4 separate regions of the Homo sapiens genome follow, and regions 2, 3 and 4 are each linked to region 1. Evidence: promoter capture Hi-C in 16 types of primary human blood cells and fetal thymus (Javierre and others, 2016). All regions are on one chromosome and are shown on one strand. Each heading gives the region's core, a stretch centred on a gene start or on the middle of the fragment in contact. The rest is flanking DNA. Distances are from core to core; before and after follow the strand shown.

Evidence for each region. Contacts are between HindIII fragments. The CHiCAGO score rates a contact against its expected background, and 5 or more counts as called.
Region 2: a fragment that was not itself captured here is called in contact with the fragment with the promoter of DPPA5 in region 1 in 1 of 17 cell types (naive CD8 T cells); the score reaches 5.2 in naive CD8 T cells.
Region 3: a fragment that was not itself captured here is called in contact with the fragment with the promoter of DPPA5 in region 1 in 2 of 17 cell types (total B cells and fetal thymus); the score reaches 6.2 in total B cells.
Region 4: a fragment that was not itself captured here is called in contact with the fragment with the promoter of DPPA5 in region 1 in 1 of 17 cell types (total B cells); the score reaches 5.1 in total B cells.

The regions. Positions count from the first base shown.
Region 1 is chr6:73,350,825-73,357,351 of GRCh38, reverse strand. DPPA5 (developmental pluripotency associated 5) reads left to right here and starts at 3,076. Exons shown (of 3, transcript NM_001025290.3): 1 at 3,076-3,238; 2 at 3,320-3,499; 3 at 3,974-4,289. The coding sequence starts at 3,127. The coding sequence ends at 4,032. RefSeq lists enhancers at 3,023-3,522, 3,523-4,024. The HindIII fragment of the contact is 13,079 bases long and covers 1-4,109 here.
Region 2 is chr6:72,407,789-72,414,111 of GRCh38, reverse strand. No RefSeq gene overlaps it. Among named protein-coding and RNA genes, the nearest start is that of KCNQ5, 210 kb to the left of the region's middle. The HindIII fragment of the contact is 1,699 bases long and covers 1,119-2,817 here.
Region 3 is chr6:72,434,374-72,440,945 of GRCh38, reverse strand. No RefSeq gene overlaps it. Among named protein-coding and RNA genes, the nearest start is that of KCNQ5, 180 kb to the left of the region's middle. The HindIII fragment of the contact is 1,913 bases long and covers 2,978-4,890 here.
Region 4 is chr6:72,352,426-72,359,059 of GRCh38, reverse strand. All of the region lies in intron 29 of RIMS1 (regulating synaptic membrane exocytosis 1), which reads right to left. Among named protein-coding and RNA genes, the nearest start is that of KCNQ5, 270 kb to the left of the region's middle. The HindIII fragment of the contact is 2,539 bases long and covers 3,003-5,541 here.

The sequences.
Region 1 (6,527 bases), core at 1,827-4,326:
GACAAATAATACTAACTTTCTCATAGCCTCGGTAGAAAAAAACATGTGAAATGAATTTGAATATTATATCTTAGGAAACCATCTAGAGCAACATTGTCCAACTGAAATAGAATGAGAGACAAATAATACTAACTTTCTCATAGCCTCGGTAGAAAAAAACATGTGAAATGAATTTGAATATTATATCTTATTTACTTTAATATATCCAAAATATTATCATTTTGGCTGGGCACAGTGGCTTGTGCCTGTAATCCCAGCACTTTGGGAAGCTGAGGTGGGCGGATCCCTTGAGTGCAGGAGTTTGAGCAGGAGTTTGAGACCAGCCTGGGCAACATAACGAGACCCTGTTTTTTTTTTTTTTTGAGACAGGATCTCACTCTGTCACCCAGGCTAGAGTGCAATAGCGCAATCTTGTCTCACTGCAACCTCCACCTCCTGGGCTCAAGCAGTTCCTTGTGGCTCAGTCTCCCCATTAGCTAGGACTACAAGCATGCACCCCCACAACTGGCTAATTTTTGTCTTTTTTGTAGATACGGGGTTTCATCATGTTGCCCAGGCTAGTCTTGAACCCCTGAGGTCAGATGATCCGTCAGCCTTGGCCTCTCAAAGTGCTGGGATTACAGGCATGAGCCACCCCGTCCAGCCAACAAGACCCTGTCTTAACTGAAAAAAAATTTAAGAAAAGGAAAAACCAAAATATTATAATTTTAACATATAATCAGTCTAAAATTATTAATGAGAATATTTAAATTTTTGGTATTAATGTCATCAAAATTTTACATGTAGCTTACACTTACAGCATATCTCAAATCAGACTAGACACATTTCCAGTCCTCATGTGACTAGTGACTTTTGTATTGGACAGTGCAGGTCCGGAGTGACTTTTCTTGAAATGCAAAGGAAGGTACCATGGAATAACATGTTTAGGAATAAGTAAGGTATACAGAAATAGAAGTGAGGGTTGCTTTTCATAAGAGTCTGGGTCACAGGAAAAAGGGAGCTTGGGCTGCAGGTGGAATGGGAGATGGGAAATTGAAAGTTTATTATGACTGGGTGTAGTGACTCACACCTGTAATCCCAGCACTTTGGGAGGCTGAGGCAGGCAGATCAGGAGGTCAGGAGTTCGAGACCAGCCTGGCCAACATGGTGCAACTCCATCTCTACTAAAAATACAAAAATTAGCCAATGTGGTGGGGGGTGCCTGTAATCCCAGCTACTCAGGAAGCTGAAGCAGGAGAATTGTTTGAACCCGGGAGGCAGAGGTTGCAGTGAGCTAAGATTGTGCCCTGTACTCCAGCCTGGGTGACAGAGCAAGACTCCATATATATATATTTGATTATTTGGCCAGGTGTGGTGGCTCATGCCTGTAATCCCAGCAGTTTGGGGGGCCGAGGTGGGCAGATCACTTGAGGTCAGGAGTTCGAGTTCGAGACCAGCCTGGTCAACATGATGAAACCCTGTCTCTACTAAAAATACAAAAATTAGCCGGGCATGGTAGCTGGCACCTGTAATCCCAGCTACTGGGGAGGCTGAAGCAGAACCGCTTGAACCCGGGAGGTGGAGGTTGCAGTGAGCAGAGATCGCGCCACTGCACTCCAGCCTGAGCAATAGAGTGAGACTCTGTCTCAAAAAATTTAAATTTAATTTAAAAAATAATAAAAATAAAAACAAAGAAACCCAATTCACTCTACATACTTTAGCATGTTTCTCCTGAGAATAATGACCTTATCTTACATAACTGTAGTACACTTATCCCACTCTAGAAGTTCTAAACTTTAGAAGTTTCTAATACTACTTTGAAATATAGGGCATATTAAAATTTCCTTCATTGTCCTGAAATGCATCCCCCATCTTTGATTCAGAATTATTTGAACTATGCACACAGCATTTAGTGTCTTAGTCAATTAATAAAACAGTCCTCTTTTTGTTTTTCAGATATTGAACCAGAAATCCATTTGTCCCATTATTGGTGATGCTAACTTGGGTCAAGGTGGCTTCTTCCAAGTCTCTACTGTAAAGGAATGTTTTTTTCTCCTTTGCAATTCATAATCTGTGCCTAGGGCTTCCAAACTTGTGACTATCTAGTTCCTCAACAGTCTTCATCTGATAGTTTTAGCTATTGATGATCATTTTCTAAATTAACTACACTGGTGGTTGCAAAAGAACCCATTGTGTGTGTGTGTGCGTGCGTGTGTGTGTGTGTGCGTGCGTGTGTGTGTGAAGAGGTCTGCCTTAAGAAACCCTCAATAATGGACAGCTGAGGGGACATTAGATGTTACCAGGACTGGAAATGCCAGCTTAATCACCATCTGTAAAGCCATAAAACAGTGAAATCACACTCTCATCGAGTGACTCCAGTGCATCGCTCCAAACACTATGTTTAAAAAACGAATAAACCAAATTTATTTACAGAGGAGCCAGAAGCCTGGACCGGTTTTGGCTGGAGTGCGCAGGCAGGGCACAGGTGAGCTTTATAATCCGGGTAGGTTCAAAGACTCTAGAGCCAGGGGCTTCGAAGAACGCTAATCCCTTTAGGTAAGATAATCAGTTTCCGAATTTCGGTTTTCTCTTTTGTTCAATGGCAAGAGTTCCTCCAGAGTTCCCGGGACGTTGTCCGGGTCGCCAGCAAAGTGGAGCCGCGGGTCCTGCTCCTTAAGGCCGAGGGGATACGGACCCTTCTTTGGAACGTGTGAGGCAGGAACTCGATTCGGCAGCTACTGGGTGGTCCTCGCACCCTCAAGCCTGGACGCCCGCTTTCCGAGGTTCAGGTCCCACCGGTTGTTCCCTAGAGGAAGAGGCAAGAGCACCTTGCCCCCAGCCATTCCCAAGCCCATGGGATTCTGGTGCGAAAGACACAGGTCAATGCAGGTGGAAACCCTAGTTAACTTGGAGACAGCTGGGCCCGGGTGAGGCTCTCCCGAAGTCGCGGGAAGCGGAAGAGTTGGCAACCTGCTGGACCGCAGCCAGGGCGGCGGGGCATGGACTCAGGGTCCTGGCCCGGGCCGGGGGCGGGGCCTGGCCGGGGGCGGGGCCACCAGGTGCGAGGCTTTATCGCCCCTGAGCCTCGGCCGGCGTGATTAGGCCTGGTTTGCGCTGGAGAGTGGTCTTGGTTGTGAGGGTCATAAGATGGGAACTCTCCCGGCACGTAGACATATCCCGCCGTGGGTGAAAGTTCCCGAAGACCTGAAAGATCCAGAGGTGTTCCAGGTCCAGACGCGGCTGCTGAAAGCCATTTTCGGTGAGTGTGCCCAGTACTGGCGGGCTGCCCCGGCTCGGGAGTCTCAGCCGGCCCGGGGATCTCATCTCTTTTCCCCAACAGGCCCGGACGGATCTCGAATCCCTTACATCGAGCAGGTGAGCAAGGCCATGCTCGAGCTGAAGGCTCTGGAGTCTTCAGACCTCACCGAGGTCGTGGTTTACGGCTCCTATTTGTACAAGCTCCGGACCAAGTGGATGCTCCAGTCCATGGCTGAGTGGCACCGCCAGCGCCAGGAGCGAGGTGAGAGGCCCAGAGACTGGGTACGCGGAACACAGGCTCGCGGGGGCCGCTTCGCGCCTCTCCTCCAGCCCTCTCCTCTTTCTCCTCTCTTGCTCGCTGCCAGCACCTTGGGCGTCACCAGGGGTGCCCTTGGCATCTGGGCCTTCCCAAGACCCCTTTGGGAATGGGGGCCCCAGAATGCCGGCCGTCGGTCTTGGAGACCCAGGGGTGAGACTATGGTGAAAGGCGGCTGGTGCTGGACCCACTGGGCAGGGTTATCTGAGCTATCTCAACCGTCTCCCCGCCCCCTTCAGTTTCTTGGAGAATGTTCGAATGGGCCGAGTAGTCTCGGGTTCCAAGGTTCTGGGCCTGACTCTCAGGCCCAGAACGCCTGGATCAGAAGTCCCAGAAACGAACCCTGAAAGAGGCGGAGAACAGTCCGGGCGCTTACTATTTTCCCCCAGACTCACGCCGCTGTTGCTATTTCTGGTGCAGGGATGCTCAAACTTGCCGAAGCCATGAATGCCCTCGAACTAGGCCCTTGGATGAAGTGAACCAGTTTCCAGCCAATGCAATGAAGCCGGGTTGCAGAGATTAGGTTGTGGCCAGAGCTAGAGTGATTCCTTAAGCTTGTTTTAAAATCTGCTCCAGCCTAAAGAGTTAAGGGAAAACCATTTGTTCCCTTAAAGAGTTAAGGGAAAACCCTTGGCTCTGAGTCTTGTTGTGAATATTTCTTTGATGATTGTTAATAAAAAGTGTTTTTTCTTTTTTCCCATTTTTAAAAATAACAATAAAGTTTTAAATAAGTTGATAGTTCAGTGTGGTTGATGGATTGTAGGTACTACCTTAAATATCTCTGAAGCACAGCTGAAGTGTGGCCCTGAGCTTAACCCTTAATTGAAATCCTCCAAAGACAAAATGAGGGTCCAAAGGCACACTTGGCTAGTGTCAAAAAGGGTGGAGGAGCCAGGGTCCTGAGATGCAGCACTGAACTAAAAACCTATGGGAGATGTGATGATTGTCTCAAGTGACCTGGACTCACTTGAAAACAACCCTATAATAGGTTGACATTTTGTATATAAGCTGAAAAGCAAATGTGTCCAACAAAAATATGGGAAGTCAGAACCATTGTTAGTGTAGCATGTTTTGTGTGTGTTTTTTGTTTGTTTTCTTTTCTTTTCTTTTTTTTTTTGGAGACGAGTTTTTCTCTTGTCACCCAGGCTGGAGTGCAATGGAGCGATCTTGGCTCACTGCAACCTCCTCGACCCCCCTCCCCCGCCCCCACCCCTTTCAAGCAATTCTCCTGCCTCAGCCTCCCGAGTAGCTGGGATTATGGGTGAGTAGCTGGGATTATGGGTGAGTAGCTGGGATTACAGGTGTGAGCCACCGTGACTGGCCAAAATCTCAGATTTTCAAAGGGTTTTGCTCTCTTCTCCCAGGTGGTCCATACTCAGGGGAGATCCTCTCCTCTACAGTCTGCTTAACCTGCTTTATTTTTTCTTTATGGCATTTATAAACTCGACCGATAGTGTTAACTGGTCATTTTCCTCCTCTCTACTCCTAAGATTTAAACCCCAACAAGGCAGGGACATTGATTTTTTTGTTGTTCTTAAGAGGGGCAATATGGTATAGTACATAGTGGTTAAGGATAGTGTTGTAAGAAACGGACAGCAGCTAGAATACCTGGGTTTGAATCTTAACTCAGCTACTTATTAGCTGGGGAACCAGGCATATGTTAGCCTTTGTGCTTCAGTTCTCCACCTGTAATATGGGGATAATTATATCTACCTCATTGGGTTGCAGTGAGGATTAAATGAGATAAGACTATGTCCTAAATCTGCGAAGTATTAAAACAATGTCTGACACAATGGGCATTATTTCTTGAATGTATGAATAATAGGCTACTCTTCCTCTACTGCAGGACTGGAGTAGACTCCTGTATTACAGGTTCTGAGGGAGGAGGGACTCCAGCTTCCAGTCCTATCCTCTAAGGTTCTCATCATTGAAGACTCAGAGGGAGGGCCATGAAAGTCTTGTAAATGCATTGTTTTTCTACCCCCTGGAAGTCCTGGGTGCAGTTTCTGGGACCATTAGATGCCATACCACTTGTGGGTCCCTGAGAAGACAAAGGCACATTTGGCATGCTATTGAGCTTTATTTGGAGTGGAGACCAAGGGATCAGTCACGTACCCTATTGGCATTTTTACCCTCCCCCGTCCCAGCCCTGAGACCTGTGGCTGGAAGGTCCTAGACCACTCAGCCTGGCTCCTGCTCAAGATTTTGAAGGAAGGCCAGGCGTGGTGGCTCACGGCTGTATTCCCAGCACTTTGGGAGGCCAAGGTGGGTGGATGACGAGGTGAGGAGTTCGAGACAACCTGGCCAACATGATGAAACCCCCGTCTCTACTAAAAATACAAAAATTAGCTAGGCGTTGTGGCGGGTGCTTGTAGTCCCAGCTATGTGGAAGTCTGAGGCAGGAGAATCGCTTGAACCTGGGAGGCTGAGGAAGACCGTGCCACTACACTCCAGCCTGGGTGACAGAGAAACTCTGTCTCAAAAAAAAAAAAAAAAAAAAAAAAAGAATTATCTGGGCACAGTGGCACATGCTTGTAGGCCTAACTACTCAAGAGGCTGAGGCAGGAGGTTCGCTTGAGTTCAGGAACTTGGGGTTACAGTGAGCTATGATCGTACCAGTGTACTCCACCCTGGGCGAAAGGAAACTGTCTCAAAAAAAAAAAAATCTAAAATGATAGAAGTCTCCCTCCTATCTCATTTCATATCATACATTTCCTACTTCCCAAAAATAAGCAATATTTTCTTGAATGTCCATTCAAGAGTTTTTAAAAAATATAAGGAATTATACGTGTAGATTATTTTCCCTCCTTTACAGCTGGGTATTATTCAATTTAATTCTCTACAAAATGACTTTTGAGTTTATTCCCAATCTTTTGCTTTTACAAAGATGAGATGAATACTTTGAATAACTTTTTTTTTTTTTTTTGAGACAGTTTTGCTTTTGTCACAGGCTGCAGTGTAATGGCGTGATCTT
Region 2 (6,323 bases), core at 719-3,218, 940 kb after region 1:
AGGGTCTGTATTTCCGACAAGCTCCCAGCTGTTGCTGGTGCTACTGGTCAGAGGACTGGACTTTGAGTCGCACGGGATCAGGTTCAGTGTTTGTTGTTTACACATACTCACACACGCCTGTATGTGCTGCAGAAGTGGACGAGAAAGAAAAGCACACCTTTCATTCTTAGAGGGTTTTATATATTTAAAAACACTTTGATAGACATTTCTCTTAGGCAAGCAGGGTAGGTAGCATTATCACAGTTTTTTCTGCCCAATGGTATATAGTTATATAATCTCATTAACTATGAGGTTATAGATCCAATTGCTCATACCTGTTCACCACAAAAGACTAATTGAATTAGAATATGTTTGTATTATAGTATTTTTGTTAATATTATGGTATTTGTACACAAATTAGAGTGTCGTTATTAGATTGTTATTAATCACACACATTTTGAAATGCTGTAAATCCTAGTGGGTTCAAGTTACTAGGGAGTTATTTCACAGATTCCACAGAGGGGTTCAAAGAGACATCTCTGGGGAGAGAGGGTGCCTTTGCCAATGATGCATCTCTAGAAGCTCCCACATTCATAGTCAGGTGAACTTTGCTGCTTTGTCCTGATGTTTACTGGCTTTTCTCCACATTGATTGAAATTCCATAATCATGGTGAGAATAATTAGAGTGGTGTCAAGGAATCTCCTACCTCCCACCTGTAGTGGGTTGAATGATGACCCCCATCCCAAAATAAAAGTCCACTCAGAACATCTGAATGTGATCTTATTTGGAAGAAAGGTCACTGCAGATATAATTAAGGTAAGGATATTGAGATGAGAAGGCCTTGACTTAGGGTGGGCCCCAAGTCCAATGACAAACGTCCTTATAAGAGATCAAAAAAGAAGAGAGGGGGCACCTGGAGGCCATGTGAGGATGGAGGTAGAGACTGCAGTTCTACTGCCACAAGTCAAGGAGTGCCAGTAGGCTCCAGGAGCTGGGAGTGGGCAGGAAGCATTCTTCCCTGAGGCCTTTGGAGGGAGTGTGGGTCTGCTGTCACCTTGATTTCAGATTTCTGGCCTCCAGAACGGTAAAATAAGTTCTTGTTTTAAAAAGAAGTTCTTGTCGTTTTAAGCCACAAGCTTTGGGTACTTTGTTGTGGCAGCCCCCGGAAAGAGTGCGCAGCCCCTTACGCACCTTCCAGTGGTGGCTCATGGTCCAGCCTTGAGAAGTTCTCTCCCTGCTGCTCATGCCTCCTCTCTGCCCCCCTGTCCCGGGTACTTGGCCTTGGCGTGGCCTGTCCACACATGGCTGTGCTTGAGCATGGTGGCATTGGTCCCAGGGACAGGGCAACTTTATTCCATAAGTGGAAACGACAGAGATTCTCTGACCACACACACCTGGGGACTGGAAATGAACCTATAATCTCAAGGGAGGTGAGTCAAAACTCAGAATTCATTCACCAAAACAAAACCTCTTGATTGATTCTTGGTGGAGATAAAGATGAAAAAGATTTGAGTATGCATATAATTATAAAATACTTATACTGTATTCTCAAGCAGATATTTTTACACCATATAAAAGGCAGTTGCCCCACAAGATTAGTCCTTAACCTTAAGGTTTAGTCAGTCCTAGTTAAATTTTCCCTACTGAAGGCTAGCGCATCAGCATTGACTCTCAAAAGATCCCTCTGCATTCAGCGTCTTCTCGGACCTGCACGAAGCACTGCTGCCATCTTGTGGCTGAGATGCGCCACTACACCCGCTTATTTTATGAGGTTCTAGCTCTCACCAACAGAGGGCAGGGTTGAGGCCCCTGCCTGCAGACAAACCCTTGTTCATAATTTTGAGCCAAATGCTAGTGTGGCAGAGTGAGATTTCTTTTTAAACTAAATTTTGAGAAGAACCAGGTAATACAACTGCTATTTGCCTGTTAATAAAGCAGGGGAAATTCACAAATATTTCACAGCCTCCTAGGAGGTGAGAACATGCCACTAGATACACTATTTTGAATTTCCTATTTTCCTACTTCCTATCCATCTGATGCCCTAATGGCAGCTAACAGGGAGGAGTCCAGCGTGGGAAGGTGAGGAGGGTTGGGATTGCAGGAGGCCAGGTGATACCCTGACACTGGGCTTCCTGTTACCTTTGGAACTGAGAGGCAATCCAACCCTAAAGTGGTAGAACTTTGTTTAACTCTCCAACAACTAGGGTTCTGATAGCCTGATTTCCTAGGAAAGAGGATTTATGTAGCTCAGAGTTATATTTGGTTTGTGGTTGCTATTAGAGTAAAAGAATCAGGCCTGGTGTGGTGCCTCACACCTGTAATCGCAGCCCTTTGGGAGGGCAAGGCAGGAAGACTGCTTGAGGCCAGGAGTTTGAGACCAGGCTGGCCCACATAGTCCGACCCCCATCTCTAAAAAAAACTTAAAAACTAGCCATGTGTGGTGGTGCATGCCTTTTGTTCCGGCTACCGAGGAGGCTGAGGCTGAGCCTAGAAGTTTGGGGCTTCAGTAAGCCATGATTGTACCACTGCATTCTAGCTTGGGTGACGGAGCGAGATATTGTCTCAAAAAAAAAAAAAAAAAAAAAAAAAGAGAGAGAGAGGGAGAGAATCTATCTTTCTTAGTCTCCATCTATCTTTTCACAAAAGTGAAATTTGCCTGACTGACCCGCATCAACATCCCCCTTCACCTACCCCCAATAAAATCGTCAAACAGAGCAAAGCTCAGAGCAAGAGTGAAGGTTCTGGGGCCTTCCCATTTGTCCTGCCTCCTTCCTCTTCCATCATTGTCTAAAGAAAGGCTCAAAGAATGTTTCTTAATTCTTTATAATTGGAAAGCTTTCATCAAGAGTGTTTTAAAGAAAAAGAAGTGCATTTCTGGAGCATTACTCTAGGGTCACCAACTTATCAATTTTAATCGATGAATCAGAGATCTAGACTGAAAAATCATGAGTGTTTTTGCTGGTTTTACTTAGTAGATAGAAAGGCCAGTGGAAAGTGTGGCCCGTCACAAGGCTCTGCTTTCCAGGCCTGGGCATTCAATCTTTCTGTGCAAACTGAGCTCCTCCAACCCCTGCATCACTTGGAGGTGGGACCGGCTTCATAGGCCTGGGTCCTGGGCAGTCACACCAGCCCTCGCACTCAGGAGGCCTGCTCTTGGCTTCACGCTCTGCTGTTGCTATCTTGAAAATCTTAAGAATTTTTTAACATGCGGGCTCAGATTTTTATTTTGTACTAGACCTCGTAAATGACATAATAGGTCCTGCCTGGGAGTGTGTTAGAGATGCATTATCTGAGGCCTCATCTTGGACTTCTAAAATTGAATGTGTATTTTAACAGGATCCCAAGGTAAATGGTTGCAACTTTAAAATTTGAGCACTGATCTTAGCTGCCTATGAAGTTGTGGTGGCAGAACGCAGATGAGTGAGCAGGGGGTGAGTCCTTGGCAGAGAATGCAGGGGAAGATCTGCCTTCTCCTCTTCAGAATGGAAGAATCAAAAAGCAGAGAGCCTGGGGGTGGGGGGCACTTGGGAGATGATGAAATTCAGGGAGAGAGAGGAGAGTAAGTGGAAATTGTTTTACAGTACAGGAACCAGCTCTCATAAACCATTTCCTTTATAACTTGGTGACCTGTCATAAATTTTTGAAAAACTTAGTTCTAACATTGGAGCACAAAAGTGAAATTGAACCATGACTGACCACTGTTTCTCTGGCTTTAGGATATAGCCTGACCATTGTTGAGCTATTGCTCTACTATGGAATGAGACAGGATTCCCCATTGATCCAAGTTGCCCTTTATCCCTCCACTGTTTCTAGACATTTTCCCCTCTGTTACCCTTCTAGCTCTCAAATCTCCAACCCTTCCAAACTCAACATGCACACTTTGCTTTATGTCATCGGGGGGTTACACATTTACAAAAGAACATCTTGGAAAATACTTTTACTTCAGCCTGTAGCTGCTTTCAGAAGGATAAGAAAACCCCAAGGAAAAGGGGACTCCAATAGTTTAACTGCCAGAAATACAGGTGGTGGATTTATAAAGTCAAAATTAATTTGTAATTTTAAAATTTACTGTTGCTATGATTTAGAAAAAAAACCTTCAAATAGGAGTGTTTTTTTTTTTAATTTGTGTGTCATAGAGCACTTCATATTGGTTACTTGCAATTTTATTGAGCCCAATTATTATACTTCCAGTGTAGAAGTCTCCACCTTAGTGTACATGGTTGAGAAATCAAACAATATATTTGATATAATACCGTGTTAGGTCATTCTTGCATTCCTATAAAGAAATACCTGAGACTGGGTAATTTATAAAGAAAAGACACTTAATTGGCTCACGGTTCGGCAGACTGTACAGGCAGCATGGTGCAGGCATCTGCTTGCTTCTTGGGAGGACTCAGGGAGCTTTTACTCATGGTGGGAGGCAAAGTGGGAGCTGGTACTTCGTATGGGGAAAACAGGAGCAAGGGCAGGGGGAGGTGCCCCACACTTTTAAAGGACCAGATCTCCTGAGAACTCACTCTTTGTGGTGGGGACGTCACTAAGCCAGGAGGGATCCATCCCCATGACCCAAGCAGCTCCCTGCAGGCCCCACCTCCTACACTGGGGATTACATCTCAACATGAGATTTGGAGGGGACATCCAAACTATGTCAGATGGTGAAATTAGACCAAAGAAAAGCAGAAGCCACACAAAACAAAAGTGTTGTTTTTAGAATACAAGCTAGCATGAAAGAAAATCCTGGCTAGGGGCAACAAAATCATAGACTTTATTTTGATTCTCAACTGAAGAAATAGCTATGGATCCCTTTAGCATTATAACTAGCTGTTTTGGGAGTTGGAGGTGAAACTTTGGGATTTATGAAAAGGAGATTGAGTTTTTGTAGACTGAACAGCAGTGATCCAGAACAATGTGGAGTCCTCAGTTTCTGTGTTGTGCATTCATTCTACCATCTTGTGTTTGTGTACAGTCCCTGTGCCATACACTAAGCTACTTGTTTATGTCATTATTTTTAACTTGAATTATTTCAAAGGGATTTACAAAGAGTTTCAAGAAGCTGTTTCATAATAACATTATTGGAATAAATCATAAAAAGAAAAAATACATACTAGCTGTGAATTCTTTTATGATTGATGTGAGAGTATAATTGTTTTACAAAGTCCTGGAGAGACAGGGTAAATTAAACTCGTATAATGGGTTATTATACTATTCCTGCAATAGTCCCAGGCAGGAGTTCAGGAAGTCTGTGAACTAAAAGAGAAAAAAGTGCATCTTTTCTTTTTTCTAATCTCTAATTGTAATTTAAAATTTCTTTCATTTATCACTGTAGGTAAGAAACCACAATAGCATAGTAGTACCTGTGACCTTGCTGTCAGTACAGAATCACACATATTCATAATATCAACTAGTATTTATGCTCATCACAGCTTCAAAAACACTGTAGTTATTGGACCTGTCACTAGATTTCTTTTAATACCTCAGTAAAGAAGTCATATGTATTGCTAGATGACAAATTTTTGTTTTATTTTGTTTTTTGAGACAGGGTCTCACTGTCACTCAGACTGGAGTGCAGTGGTGTGACAAAGGCTCACTGCAGCCTCTCCCTCCCAGGCTCAATCAATCTGCAAGCCTCAGCCTCTCAAGTAGCTAGGACTACAGGTGTGTGCCATCGTGCCTGGCTTTTTTTAAAATTTTTATTTATTTATTTTTTTTGTAGAGATGGGTTTTTGCCATATTGCCCAGGCTGGTCTCTCAAAACTCCTGGGCTCAAGTATCCGCGCGCTTCAGCCTCCCTAAGTGTTGGGATTACAGGTGTGAGCCACCACGCCAGACCAAAAATTTGTTGTTAAAATGTTTTTAACTCTTTCAATATAATTGGCTTCATTTTCCTCCTATGTACTTTTTAAAGGAGTTTAACTTCATTATTCTGAGAAGGAGTCTATAGGTATCACCAGGCACCAAAGGGAACCAAAGCATATGAAAAGTTAAGTGCCCTATGGTAGAAGCAATCCCACTCCTCGGTATATACCCAAGGGAAAAGAATTCATTCTATCAAAACAGACACATCCACCCATATGTTCATTGCAGCACTATTCAAAATAGCAAGGACAATGGAATCAACCTAAGTGCCCAACAGCAGTGGATTGGATAAAGAAAATGTGGTACATATACACCATGATGGAATACTATGCAGCCATAAAACAGAATGAAATCATGCTCTTTGCAGCAATATGGATGGAGCTGGAAGCCATTATCCTAAGTGACCTAAGGCAAGAACAGAAAACCAAATACTGCATGTTCTCGCTTATAAGTGGGAACTAAACACTGAATACACATGAACATAAAG
Region 3 (6,572 bases), core at 2,685-5,184, 920 kb after region 1:
AATGAAATTCACTTTTAAATGAACATACTTATGCCAACAGAGGTAAACTAAATTAGAAGTATGCGATGAGAAATTTGGTCTCAGAATTTGGCTATGAGGGATGACCTACTTTGTGGGGGGTGGGGGGGCTCATTTTTGATTTCCAGAATCTGTGTGTTTCCCTCATTGCATGAGTCTTCCATACCCACACATCTTGTGGGCCATATGGTGCTCTTTTGGAATGACTTTCATTTGATTTTCTCCTTTTCAGAGATTTTTTTTTTTTAAATTTTCACTCTGTCAGAAAGCACAGAGGTCCTTGAGGAAGGGTCTTTTGTCAAAATGCTCTTCTTAGTAGTAGTGACCTTTGATGATTCCACTAGGATTCTTAGCAGAATAATATATCTTCTGAAAAAAAAAGCAAAAAACAAACAGACAAAAAAACCAGAAGTATAGCCTACTGGTGAAGCTTAGAGAAGCATTTTATATAACTTGTTTGGAGGAAGGAAGGAACCCACTCTTCATTTGGGGTTAGGACTTCATTAGTTTCCTCATGGGGAAAATTCACAGATTTCTTTTAGGCAGGGGTTGTGTGATGGGGAAAATGGGCAAGCACAGAGGTGAGTTAGGGGTTAAGGATGGGAGAATACAAACGTCACTTACTGGGGAGTTACTCACTGCAAACCTCAGGGCCATGGAAGAAAGGCACTTGACAAAATCACGTGTGACCTGAGATGTTCAGCAGTGAGGAAGATGAGAGAAAATGGCTCACTACTTCTTACAAGGACCAACCCAAATACGGGGGGACTTCAAAAAATACATGGAAAAATGGAATTAAAAGACAAAAATTGCCAACTTTATTTTTCAACATAAGCCCCATCAAGTTCGGGACACTTCTGAAAGCTATGATACCAGTCATTTAGTCCATCCTTAAAGAAATGAGAGTTGGGAATGTAGCCATGTCAATGCCATCTTTTTTTACATTAGTAACTGAAGAAAAATGGTGCCCTTTAAAGATTAGTTAAATATTAGGAAACAAAAGAAGTTAGCAGAATTTAAATCAAGACTGTAAGGTGAAAGCCTAACGATTTTCCATCAAAACTTTCACAAAATTGCCCTTGTTTGATGAAAGGAATGAGCAAGAGCATTGTCATGGAGGAGGCAGACTCTCTGGTGAAGCTTTCCCAGGTGTTTTTCTTCTAAAACTTTGGCTAACTTCCTTCAAACACACTCATAATAAGCAGATGTTATTGTTTTTGCGTCCCACCCCCTGCTCCTGGAAAGTCAACACACAAAATGCCTTGAGCATCCCCAAAACTGCCGTGATCTTTGTTCTTGATTAATCCACTTTTGCTTTGACTGGACCTCTTCCACCTCTTGGTAGCCATTGCTTTGATTGTGCTTGTCTTTGGGATCATACTAGTAAAGCCTTGTCTATCTCCTGTTACAATTCTTCAAAGAAATGCTTCAGGATCTTGATCCTACTTGTTTAAAATTTCAATTGAAAACTCTGATCTTGTCTGTAGCTCAAGTGGGCACAACATTTTTGGCACTTACCAAGTGGAAAGTTTGCTCTGCTTTAATTTTTAGTTCACAGCTGTGTAAGCTGAATAAGTTAAGATGCCTATGGTGTTGGGCTACTGTTTCTGCTGTTAATTGCTGGTCCTTTTCAATTGGGACACAAACAAGATGAGTGTTTCCTTGCAAGTATGTGTGGATGGTATGGCACTGTGAGCTTCATCTTCAACAATATCTCATTCCCTCTTGAAATGAGTTATTCACTTGTAAACTGCTGATTTATTTGGGACATTTTCCCCATAAACTTTCATAAAGCATTATTTATTTCATCATTCTTCCACGCAAGTTTTACCATAAATTGATGTTCATTCTTGCTTTAATTTTAGCAGAGTTCATGTTGCTCTGATTGGGGCTCTCTTGAAACTCATATCTTATCCTTCTTAGTGGCTCAAATTAGATGCTGTTGAGGCATGTTATAAAAAGTTAGTACAAGTATATTTTGGTGCAAAAAATTTAAAATCCATGCATTTTTTCAGAATATATATTTGTTTTCTGTAAACTTTTAAACTATCTATTAGTATTGAAAATGCCAACAGGACAGCAGGAGAGACTCACGATTAATTAAATACAATTAAGGAGTGGAACTTACTGTACCAAAACAGAACCTGCTCACTTCCCAGAAAGCCTGCCCAGACTTTTAGTTTTCCATCCATTGGTCTTCTTTAAATGTAATTTTTCAGCTTCAGTGTAACACTCATTTGCAGATGAAGCTGGGCTGAAGCACTCTGTTTTCTTCTGGCAGGATAACACCTCTGTGTGGTCTGTTACATTTGTTGTCTGCTTAAGACCTTTCCACCATTGTATCTGCTTACAATTGGTGAAACTCCTGTTTGGTAAGTTGCTTCTCAGTAGAAATGCAATCATAGCCATTATCTGTAGGATGGCACCTTCTCTACTGTTTAGTGTTTTGGATTAGTGGAAGAGCTTTCCCAGTTGATAGTTTGCTATCACCTACTCAAAGCCAGGCAGCCTTTTAGCCAATTTCAACATGCTGCTGCAGGCAAAGAGACACAAATCTGAAATCCAGGAAAATTAAGAAGCCATTTAAAATCTCTTCTACAATGGCTCACACCAGTGTCAAAAAGGGTTTACATTCATATCACTGAGAAAATAACTTTAAAACCTCTTTTCCCCTATCTCTCTGATTCTTTATTCAGGCATACAAGCTGTTGGGAAATTTCTCTTCTCTATCCTCCAAAACTCTATAAACCCAGTCCATGTTAGGTTGAGTACCTCCTACCATCTTTCTGGATCTTTTAAGCTGTCCATCAAATGCTGTTCTTCCGTTCTAATCTAGATTGGTCTAGCTTTCAAAGCATTTTTCAGTTTTCCTTTCTATCCATTACATGAACAACAAAACTGTCACGTGCCAGGCAATGAGAATTTGCTACTTTTGAAAGTTATTTCAAAGATAAAAGCTTAGCAAATCCATACTTTCCCCGCAAAATCACATGAACGTGCTCACAGTGACAAGGCACCCTGCACTCTGTTCTTTTTGAGGAGAAAATGACAATTAATTCTCATGTCAAATTGTTAAAAGTATGTCTACACAGGATTAATATTTTGGTGGCCCAGAGCAGAAAAATGCATTTTAGCAAATCGCCTAGAAAGAGTGATTCCATTCTATGAATAGGTTCTTGAAGTTCTTATTGGTACTGACTGTCAAAGCTGTAGAGTTTCTTTCTTTCTTGATGTCTTAATGTAACTAATTTCTAGACAGAAAGGAAGGCATGTCCAGGCTTCTCTCAAAAAGGATCATCTTGTTAATTCTTTCATGAATTAATCCTGTGGGTGATTAGCAATTCAGGAGCAGGTGTTCAGTTGAGCCTCTGGAGGACCTATGCCCTTTTCAACTCAGAGGAAGTCCTAGACTGGCTAGGATTTTAGAGATAATGGCAGAACCAAGGGCTGAAAGCCTATGATGGGAGGCATTCTGTCTCACCAACTGGTGAGAAGAACAGAGTGCCTTGCTACTATTTGTGTGTGTGTATGTTTGTGTGCCTGTGTCATGTGTGTATGTGTGTGTGTGTGTGTGTGTGTGTGTGTGTGTGTGTGTGTGTGTATTTTGTAAAGTACAGCTTTGCTTACCCTTTTTTTTGGATGGAGTTTTGCTTCTGTTGCCCAGGCTAGAGTGCAAATGCGCGATCTAGGCTCACTCTAATCTCTGTTTCCCGGGCTTGAGTGATTCTCCTGCCTCAGTCTCCCCAGTAGCTAGAATTATAGGCGTGCATCACCACACCTGGCTATTCTTTGTATTTTTAGTAGAGACGGGGTTTCAGCATGTTGACCAGGCTGGTCTCAAACTCCTGACCTCAGGTGATTCGCCTGCTTCAGCCTCCCAAAGTGTTGGGATTACAGGTGTGAGCCACTGTGCCTGGCCTGCTTACCCTTATTATTAAAATCACAAAATTTTAAAGTGCTAAATTAAATGATACATTTAGTACTGTAGGAGTTCAGGTATCTGGGAGATAAAAGCAAGTTGTGTTAGTTCTGGAGACAAATCAGGCCTTGAATGAGACAGGGAGAAGAACTAAAGACCTAATCATAATCTCTTTTTTACATACTTTCAATTTTTAAAATTTGAATAAAAGTATGCAAATATTAAAAATGGGCCAGGCGCAGTGGCTCACACTTGTAATCCCAGCACTTTGGGAGGCCTAGGTGGGCAGATCACGAGGTTAGGAGGACTTCGAGACCAGCCTGGCCAACACAGTGAAATCCCGTCTCTACTAAAAATTCAAAAATTAGTTGGGAATGGTGGCAGACGCCTGTAATCCCAGCTACTCAGGAGGCTGAGGCAGGAGAATCGCTTGAACCTGGCAGACAGGGGTTGTAGTAAGCCGAGATCATGCCACTGCACTCCAGCCTGGGCGACAGAGCTAGACTCTGTCTCAAAAAAAAAAAAAAACAGTTTATCTTTTCTGCATTTTTATGAATCTTCTATAACTGGTATATAATTTATCTTACAATGGGAGAATAAAATCTAAATTATACTTAAAACAACATAGTGATTGAGAGCTGAAGCTAGGCTCTGTAGCCAGGTTGCCTGTATTCAAATCCTGGTCCACTATTCAGGCTGCTACACCTCAGGCAAGTTGCCAGTCTTCTTTTTGGCTCAGTTTTTCTATCAACTGTGGGTACTAACAGTACTTCTCTCCTGGGGTTATTGTGGGTGATAAATAAATTAATACATCTAAAATACTTGGAGAAGTGTCTGACCTAAAGATCATCCTCAGTACACATTAGGCAAGGAGGAAGATAAGAGCAGGAAGAGGAGGAGGAAGATTCTATTCCTCTAAAATCCTAGCACTAACAGCCCAATGAATGAAAGCTTTTTCCTCTTAATGCCTATTTTGGCAGCTAACTGATAAATTGTATTGAAAGAAATCAAGACTGCAATTTCTAGCTCTATTTAATAGATAATAGATCTATTTACTAGATTTATCAAGATAATTTATAATTATCAGGTCATGCAAATTTTATGTTTATTAGTGTTCATAGAGATTTTAATAAGGATTGAAAAATTAAAGCTTAAATAAAACTTACAGTCCCATATATTTACAATAAAGTCATATCATTTCATAGATTTTCTTGCTGAACTATGTGTTTTTCTTTCCCATAAATGTATTACGGACACTTGAAGATTAAGGTAGACCCTGGCTGCTATTTCAGAATCAACCTATCAATTAAACTGAACCAGGAACAATTTTTTTACAATTATAATTCATCTTTTATTTTTATATTTATTTTAGTAGTATTTATTTCTGTATTCCAATTATAAAGGGAATATTGAACATTTAGCATCACAGGTTGTTAATAATCAAAAGAAGTAAAGGAATGGCCTCCAGAAACAATTTATAGATGTTCATTAAAGAGAATTTGGAAGCTATTGAAAAGAACAACTGTAATCCCATCACAGATAGATATTCTTTTAATATTTTGGTATGTTATTTTCCACTAATTTTTTTCCTGAAAAGTGACTCTAATATTTTGATAATTTATCAGTAGATTCTTTAATATTTTGAACATTTTGTTATAAAGTATAATCATCTGTAAATATAAACAGTAGTTAACCCTTTCTGACTGCAAACACACCAGCAAAGTGTTTTGTTTGTTTGTTTGTTTTGCTGTGGGTGCTTAAGCGTTGTGACACTTAATAGGCTAGTGTCCCTTTTAACACTTAAAAGGGACACATAACTGAAATAGTGACTTGGTGTATGTAAAATCCACCTGCTCTTACGAATAGTTTCTAGAGGTTATCCCTTCCCTCCCTTCCCTCCCTCCCTTCCTTCCTTCCTGCCTTCCTTCCTGCCTTCCTTCCCGCCTTCCTTCCTGCCTTCCTTTCCTTTCTTCCTTGCTTGCTTCTTTTTCTTTCATTCATTCTTTCTCCTTCACCTCTTACCCCAGGTCATTTGAAAAAGTACAATATTCTTAGGTGGCAACTTTTTGGGGGTTTTAAGAATTTGTTTTTATCACGAACATAAAATATTAGCACTAAATTAGCAGATACTTTTTCTGTTGACAAATAAGATGACTCACTGTTCTAACACTGAATAGGTCTGTTCCTCACAAAATAGTAGGCCTTCCATTAGACTTATATTTAAATTTAAAAATTTATCTTATTTACTTATTGTGCTATTGTCCACGTATTGAACATAACTTTAACAATCAAACATATGAGTTATAAAAATTAGTGTATAATATTTATTAATAGGGCACTTCAATTAAACAGTATTCTTCTTACTCCACTCCTAAAAAATTAAAAGCATTCTGAATTACATTCATATTATTCTCAATTGCCATTTAGGATTGTTGGTTTCCCACATTTCTTTAAAAATCAAAGAATTATTTCTGGAATTATATCATACAGCTCTACCACCTGCTGGTCATAAACAGTGTAATTATGCACAGTTCTTCCTGTCACTGATGCACACTCTTTGACAATTTTAATAACTGGCTCTGTTATCGTCTCTCTTCCAACTCCTGCCATAACCTTGGAGAAATTTAATTTCCAA
Region 4 (6,634 bases), core at 3,023-5,522, 1.0 Mb after region 1:
ATTGCTTTCTAATGATGTAAGTTAAAAGTAAAGATGAAGCCTAGAGAACACAATAAATAGGAGATTAAAGAATGACCCTTAGGTGGCCTCTTTGAGGTTTAAGATGTCTCATCTGATCTGATATTTATGGCTAAGGCTCTGTTATGCCCTCTGAGGGCAGTCAGTGTATTATCTGAAGACCTACCTATGGACTTAGGTAGCACCTAGGTAGTTAGCTGGAGCCTGATGTGTCAGATCACTGTACCACTAAACTTCCCACATCTATTCTTTCCCTCTTTCTCTCCTGTAACAATGCAAAAGGTGTCTTTCCTCTTGCTGGATGTGATCCCTCCTGCCTTCAATCAATAGACAAGGCTCTATTGATTAATTCTCTCATCTTTTTATCTTAAAATCTTCCTTTCAATAGAATATAAGTATTTCAAAACCCATGCTTTTCCTTGACAAACTTAACTGCCTCCCCTTCTTTGTTCATATCTCAGAGAACAATTTTTAAACAAATGTCTTCTTTCTCTGTCCCCACGTAATCTCTGGAAAGTGTAATATTTTGCAAACACAAATTCTGTTGAATTTATCAAAGCAGTCTTTGCTAACCAGTAATTCTGGAATCTCAGCAGCCACTTCAAAATATTTGTTCCAGTTCTCATACAAATGAGAACTTTACTTTGTATTAGAAAAATACTCACTAAAAAAAAGAGAAAAGTACTCACTTAAAAAAAGAGAAAAATACTCATTGAAATGTTTCAGAAATAATGATCTTAAAAACAGAATTGTAAAGATTTCTCTATCACTTTCATTATCTACCTTGACTCCTGGCCATAGTCTTTAATTATATTTTGTTGGATTATATTTTACAGTACCTATGCTTCTAATCTATCAGCACCTTTTTTTTTTCTTTCTGTTCTTTACTTACTTCTATGAGCAGCAAAAGGGAAAAAATAATTTCATATATAAATCCAGTAATTGTTTTGGGACTCTACTGTGCTGTACAGACAAGGTGGTGATACTGTTTAAAATGAATTGTTTCCTAACGGGCACCAGCTGTGTTTGAAATCAATGTATAATGTGTGAAAGTTATAGTTGCATAAAAGTGAAATGTAAAGACGTTGAGCATCACTCAGAAACTGCTATTTTTTGATGTCTCAATCTCTATGAAGAACCAGACCTAATATATGTTTATCTTTAGAGAAAATTAAAAAGTTAGGTGATACTTTTAGCATTGTCAATTACCAATAATGCAAATTTCAGAAAATTTCAGAGTGGAATTATGACTGAGATACGGTTATGAGCAAGTTTGGTTCCAAGCTTACAGAAGTGCTAAATGTTGAATATCATATGTATGTAAAAATCAAGTAAAGAAGGATTTGATTAAAGTCACTGTTGTGAAAAACAAGTTACAGAACCATAGACTGAAGAGCTTGGAAGTATTAGAGACCCTGTAGAATCCAATGCCATGAACCTGCTGCAAAGAAAACTGGCTGAAAAGGTGAAAAGAAAATTGCCAAAGTCATATAGCTAGCCTCTGGCAGAGAGGCACCTGAAATCCAGGTCTGTTGACTCTCAGTACGGTACATATTCTAATACAAGTAAACATAAATACAGAACAATCCCCTAAGTCTATTTGTTACACCTTAGAATATTCTACCCATAAAATATTCCTATCCCAGGATGAGAGGCTGGTGCAGTTCATGTATGTGCACCACTCAGCAGCAGAACTGATCCTTCATCTGAGTAAAGAGATGGTGGATTGCAGGATGCCCTTGGGCTGCTATGAGAACATTTCAGCCCAAAGTGCTGGTCCCACTCACCCTCCAACTGAACCTAGTTGAGGATTAAACATCAAAGCCACCCCAAACCTGCAAGGTTAATGGGAAATATTTTCTCTAGAGGCTCCATGGAAAATAATCTTTATTCTCTGGCCCACAGGCTAAACTGAACTCAATACAAATTACTGAATAGCTTAGACAAATTTTGGTGCCAGGTAAAAAGAAGTTTGATATCTGTGGTATTTAGCTGTGCTTTATCCTGTAGTCACAGATCCTATAGCTGCAATAAAAAATCTTTGCTGTTCACCCACAGATATGTATGTCTGGCTTTAAAATTTTGAATTATATTCATAGGAGGAATTAAGCAGTGTTTCAGAGGATATTTGAAGCTCAAAGATAAAGGTAGAATTTAGAGAAGAATGCTCTTTTATACTAAAATATTTTGGAAAATTTTTTATAGTAAACATTAGTATATGATAAGCAGAAGGCTAAAGTCTCATTTTATTTTATTTTATTTTTTATTATTATTATTTTTTGAGACGGAGTTTTGCTCTTGTCACCCAGGCTGGAGTATAGTGGCGTAATCTTGGCTCACTGCAACCTCTGCCTCTGGGGTTCAAGCGATTCTCCTGCCTCAGCCTCCTGAGTAGCTGGGATTACAGGTACCTGCCACCACACCCAGCTAATTTTTTGTATTTTTAGTAGAGATGGGGTTTCATCATGTTAGCCAGACTGGTCTTGAACTCCTGACCTCAGGTGATCCACCTGCCTCGGACTCCCAAAGTGCAGGTATTACAGGTGTAAGCCACCGTGCCTGGACACATCTCATTATTTTTTAGATAAAATTGAAGACTTAAAAGAATATTCCTCTTTTAGCTGCTGTTTGAGGCTATGCCCTGTCTTTCTGGAGATATGCACTACTTCCCTTTGCCATTAGAGGCCTTTCAGTGGAAGAGTTTAAGAAACACAGAACATCATTTTTTTTTTTTTTAAACTTACCTTGGCAGTACATTTCCAAATTCCAAAAAGCAAGCCATAGAATTTCAAGTCTTCTTGAAGCTTAGTGATTTGGAGTTAAAGTAGTTTTTAGTTCATACGTTCCAAAGATAGGAAATAATTATGTTCTAAAGATACCGTTAAGGTCAGTTGTCAGCATAAAGTGGACATAATTTAGAGATTGTTGTGTCAACTGACTGGATATATAATGTTAACCTGTGTTTGGGGTATCACAGGAAAGCTTAATATAGTAGACTGGAATCACCTTCCAGATTATGTGGAAGAATTACGTCAATGATGATATACAATATTCTTTGTACTTTTTGAGATGTCTAAGCCAAATAAGTATCTAGAACGCAACAACAGAATCTTCTGAGAACAGTGGGAGTCGTTATGTGTAATCACAGAAACGTCAAAAGTGTATTTTATCAGCAAATCTGATTATTATGCTCATTATGATATTTTTGTTATTGTTGGGGGAGGAAGGAAAGATGGTTATAAATGACAGGTATCGAATTAGACATGTCAGAAGACTTCATAGGGAGCTCAACGATTCATTTAACCAAGCAATAAACCACTGGGAAACTAGATGGGAGACATGTATGTTTATTAAAATATCATGCAGAATAGGAGGTGGAAATATCCAACATCTCGAACTGGCAGTCTCTAACCTGATAACATAACTGCTGCACAATTTTTCAGTGTAAAAAATCAGCTGCTTGTTCTAAAGGTGTTTTCACCCATCTTTATGCATACAAAAGAGGAATAATAACACAATTCGCCTTTTGGATATAAGGAAAAAAGGAACAATCAAGGAACAATAATTTTAATAATTTAAAAATCTTTACAACCCCAAATATATTGTAATGCTATTATTTTCCAGGTTATTTTTGCTCTAACAACAGTATGTAAATACATATATTTTCTTGTTTTGAGAAGTTAAGATTTAGTTGTAATACAAGTAAATCCTCTAAATAAACTATTTTTTAAGGGTATGATAAATTGTAATACTTACAGGGATTTTTATGTAAGTAGTGAAAGATGAAGTTTAGAGACAATATAAAAGTTTAGAGACAATATAAAATCAACTATGGATTGACTAGAAGATAGTTGTATGTCCCTTTAACCCGTATTTTCATTTTGTCAAAAATTATTAAGTGACACAACTGTTGTTTAAAAACAGAAAATAAAACTTTAGTTAAGTATACAAAATGCATGTATTCACTCTCCTTTCTAAGATATTGTCTACCTTATTGGTTGATAGCATTTTCGGTGCACTATTACAACACATAACAGTTCTCCCCACACCAATTTGGCTATATAGGTCTATGAACATTCCTCGCGTTTAATATTTAAACATGCCACTGAGCACAAAAAAAAGAATTAAAAAAGTAAAATCTAACATTGGCAGTTGGGTTTTATGTATAAAGTAGCAACAGGGCAGACCTCAGGTGATGTTTAGACTTACTTCTTGGCCTAGACTTATGTTAACAGAACCCCAAAAGGTCTAAAGCACTAAAGAGGTTTGCCAACTACACTTAGATGTGGGTAGATGTTCTATGGGTTTACAAATACAAGGTGAATAAAACTGAATATACCCATCAGAATCTTTATATTCTACATAGCAAAACAGTACTAGGAAAAATTAGAAATAAATCAAGTCTCCTATAGTTAATCAACAGCAACTCTCTCACTTAAAAAGTAACACTGGGCATAGCATACAGAGCATCTAAGAAACAAAATGTATGCAATTCCAAATTTTAGATATTACACATTTTACTTCTTTTTGTTAAAGATGTGCTCTGTAATCATTACAATTATTTTAACTACAGCAAATACATGAGTAGGTTAAAAATTGGTATCTCATATATCCCATAAATATATATACCTTTTATGTACATACAAAAATTAAAAAAAATTGGGCTTAGTGTTAGAAGTAAATTTAATAAAATAGAGTTCTAGCTTAAGAGCTAGAATTTTCCATAGTGAGAAAACTGTCCCCATGGAGTAGCTAAGAAGACAGAATATGTAGGCGCAAAGCCTGGGTTTTATTTATTTGTTTGTTTGTTTATTTATTTATTGAGACGGAGTCTCACTCTGTTGCCCAGGCTGGAGTGGAGTGGCATGATGTCAGCACACTGCAACCTCTGCCTCCCAGGTTCAAGTGATCCTCCTGCCTCAGTCTCCCTAGTAGCTGGGATTGCAGGCACGTGCCACCACGCCCGGCTAATTTTTGTATTTGCAGTAGAGACGGGGTTTTACCATGTTGGCCAGGATGGTCTCTAACTCCTGACCTCAGGTGATTCACCTTCCTCGGCCTCCCAAATTGCTGGGATTACAGGTGTGAGCCACCGTGCCCGGCCAAAGCCTGGGTTTTAATACTAGCTCTGCCAACCCCCAGTTACTTAATCTCTATACCTTAATTTCCTTACTGTATACAGGAAAAATGTTAGCAGAACCTATTCCATTGGCTTGTTTTAAAGATTAAATAGTGTTGATAAAACAACCTGGAAGAGTAAATGATATATAAATGTACATGCCTGTTATTTGTAGACATAAACAAGCCAGAAGTAGTAACTGAGTATCAGAGGTGAGAGAGAAGAGAGAGAAAAAGAGCAAAATAATGTGTGCTTTGTGACGTGACCACTTCCCAATCACCTTCCCTCCAATCCCCCCATGACTAACAGTTTCTTCATCAAAGTCTATTAAACTCATAAAGCCTGGACATGAACAAACGTTTTTTGTTCTGTTTTGTTTTATAAAGCAAGGAAATGGCTAAGCTTTATGCAGTCTATGTTGTATTGAACAGGGGAACCTGGACTCTAAGAGTCAAAAGAGGCCAGGAAATTTTAAAACTGACGAATGAATAGAAATTGTGGGGTCAGTTTTGGATTCTGACAGGCTTTGAAACTCGGATAAAGGGGCTCTCAAATTACATTGTCAGTGCACAAATTTTACAGTAACATAAGAAAGCACCAGTATTTTCAGACTTTACTTTAGAACAGAATTTAAACTCAGCCGGACGTGGTGGCTCATGCCTGTAATCCCAGCACTTTGGGAGGCTGAGGCTGGTGGATCACCCGAGGTCAGGAGTTCGAGACCAGCCTGACCAACATGGTGAAACCCCGTCTCTACTAAAAATAAAAAAACTAGCTGAGCGTGGTAGTGGGTGCCTGTAATCCCAGCTACTCAGGAGGCAGGAGAATCACTTGAACCCGGGAGACGGAAGTTGCAGTGAGCCGAGATCTCGCCATTGCACTCCAGCCTGGGCAACAAGATTGACACTCCATCTCAAAAAAAAAAAAAAAAAAAAAAAAGAAAAAAGAATGTAAACTCTCAAATGACTTAATTATTTATAATGAAAGCCTTTTCAAGTTGTGTGTGTGACAGTCAGTTAGTGGTTTCTCCCCTTTCCAGTTACAGAATTCATAGTAAGTGGTTGCTAAGTCAGGGATTTTATTTCTCGGGTCCCATCCCCAGCATCTAGGCTTGGCCATGTGATTAACTGTCATTAATAGAGCATTAATAGGAATGATGTGTGATGCTTCTAGAACAAGGCTTTTAGTAGTCAGATATATGTTCTCCATTTCCCTTTTATACTTTTGCGATATGGATTCAAATGACAAAAATGCATAACATGTAAAGAACCTGGGCACCTGAACCACTGCACAGAGGAGAGTTGACTGCCTGCCATGAGCATCTGCCTCAAATTATTAAATTAACAATAAATAGAATTTTACTAAATGTGAGCCTTTATACTTTTAGGGTAAATTTTTATAAAAACTAGAATTACGTTAGCTAATATATCAAATTACTTGAGGATGATATAATAGTATGATGGCTAAGAATAAATTCTACCACACAAATACTGTGCC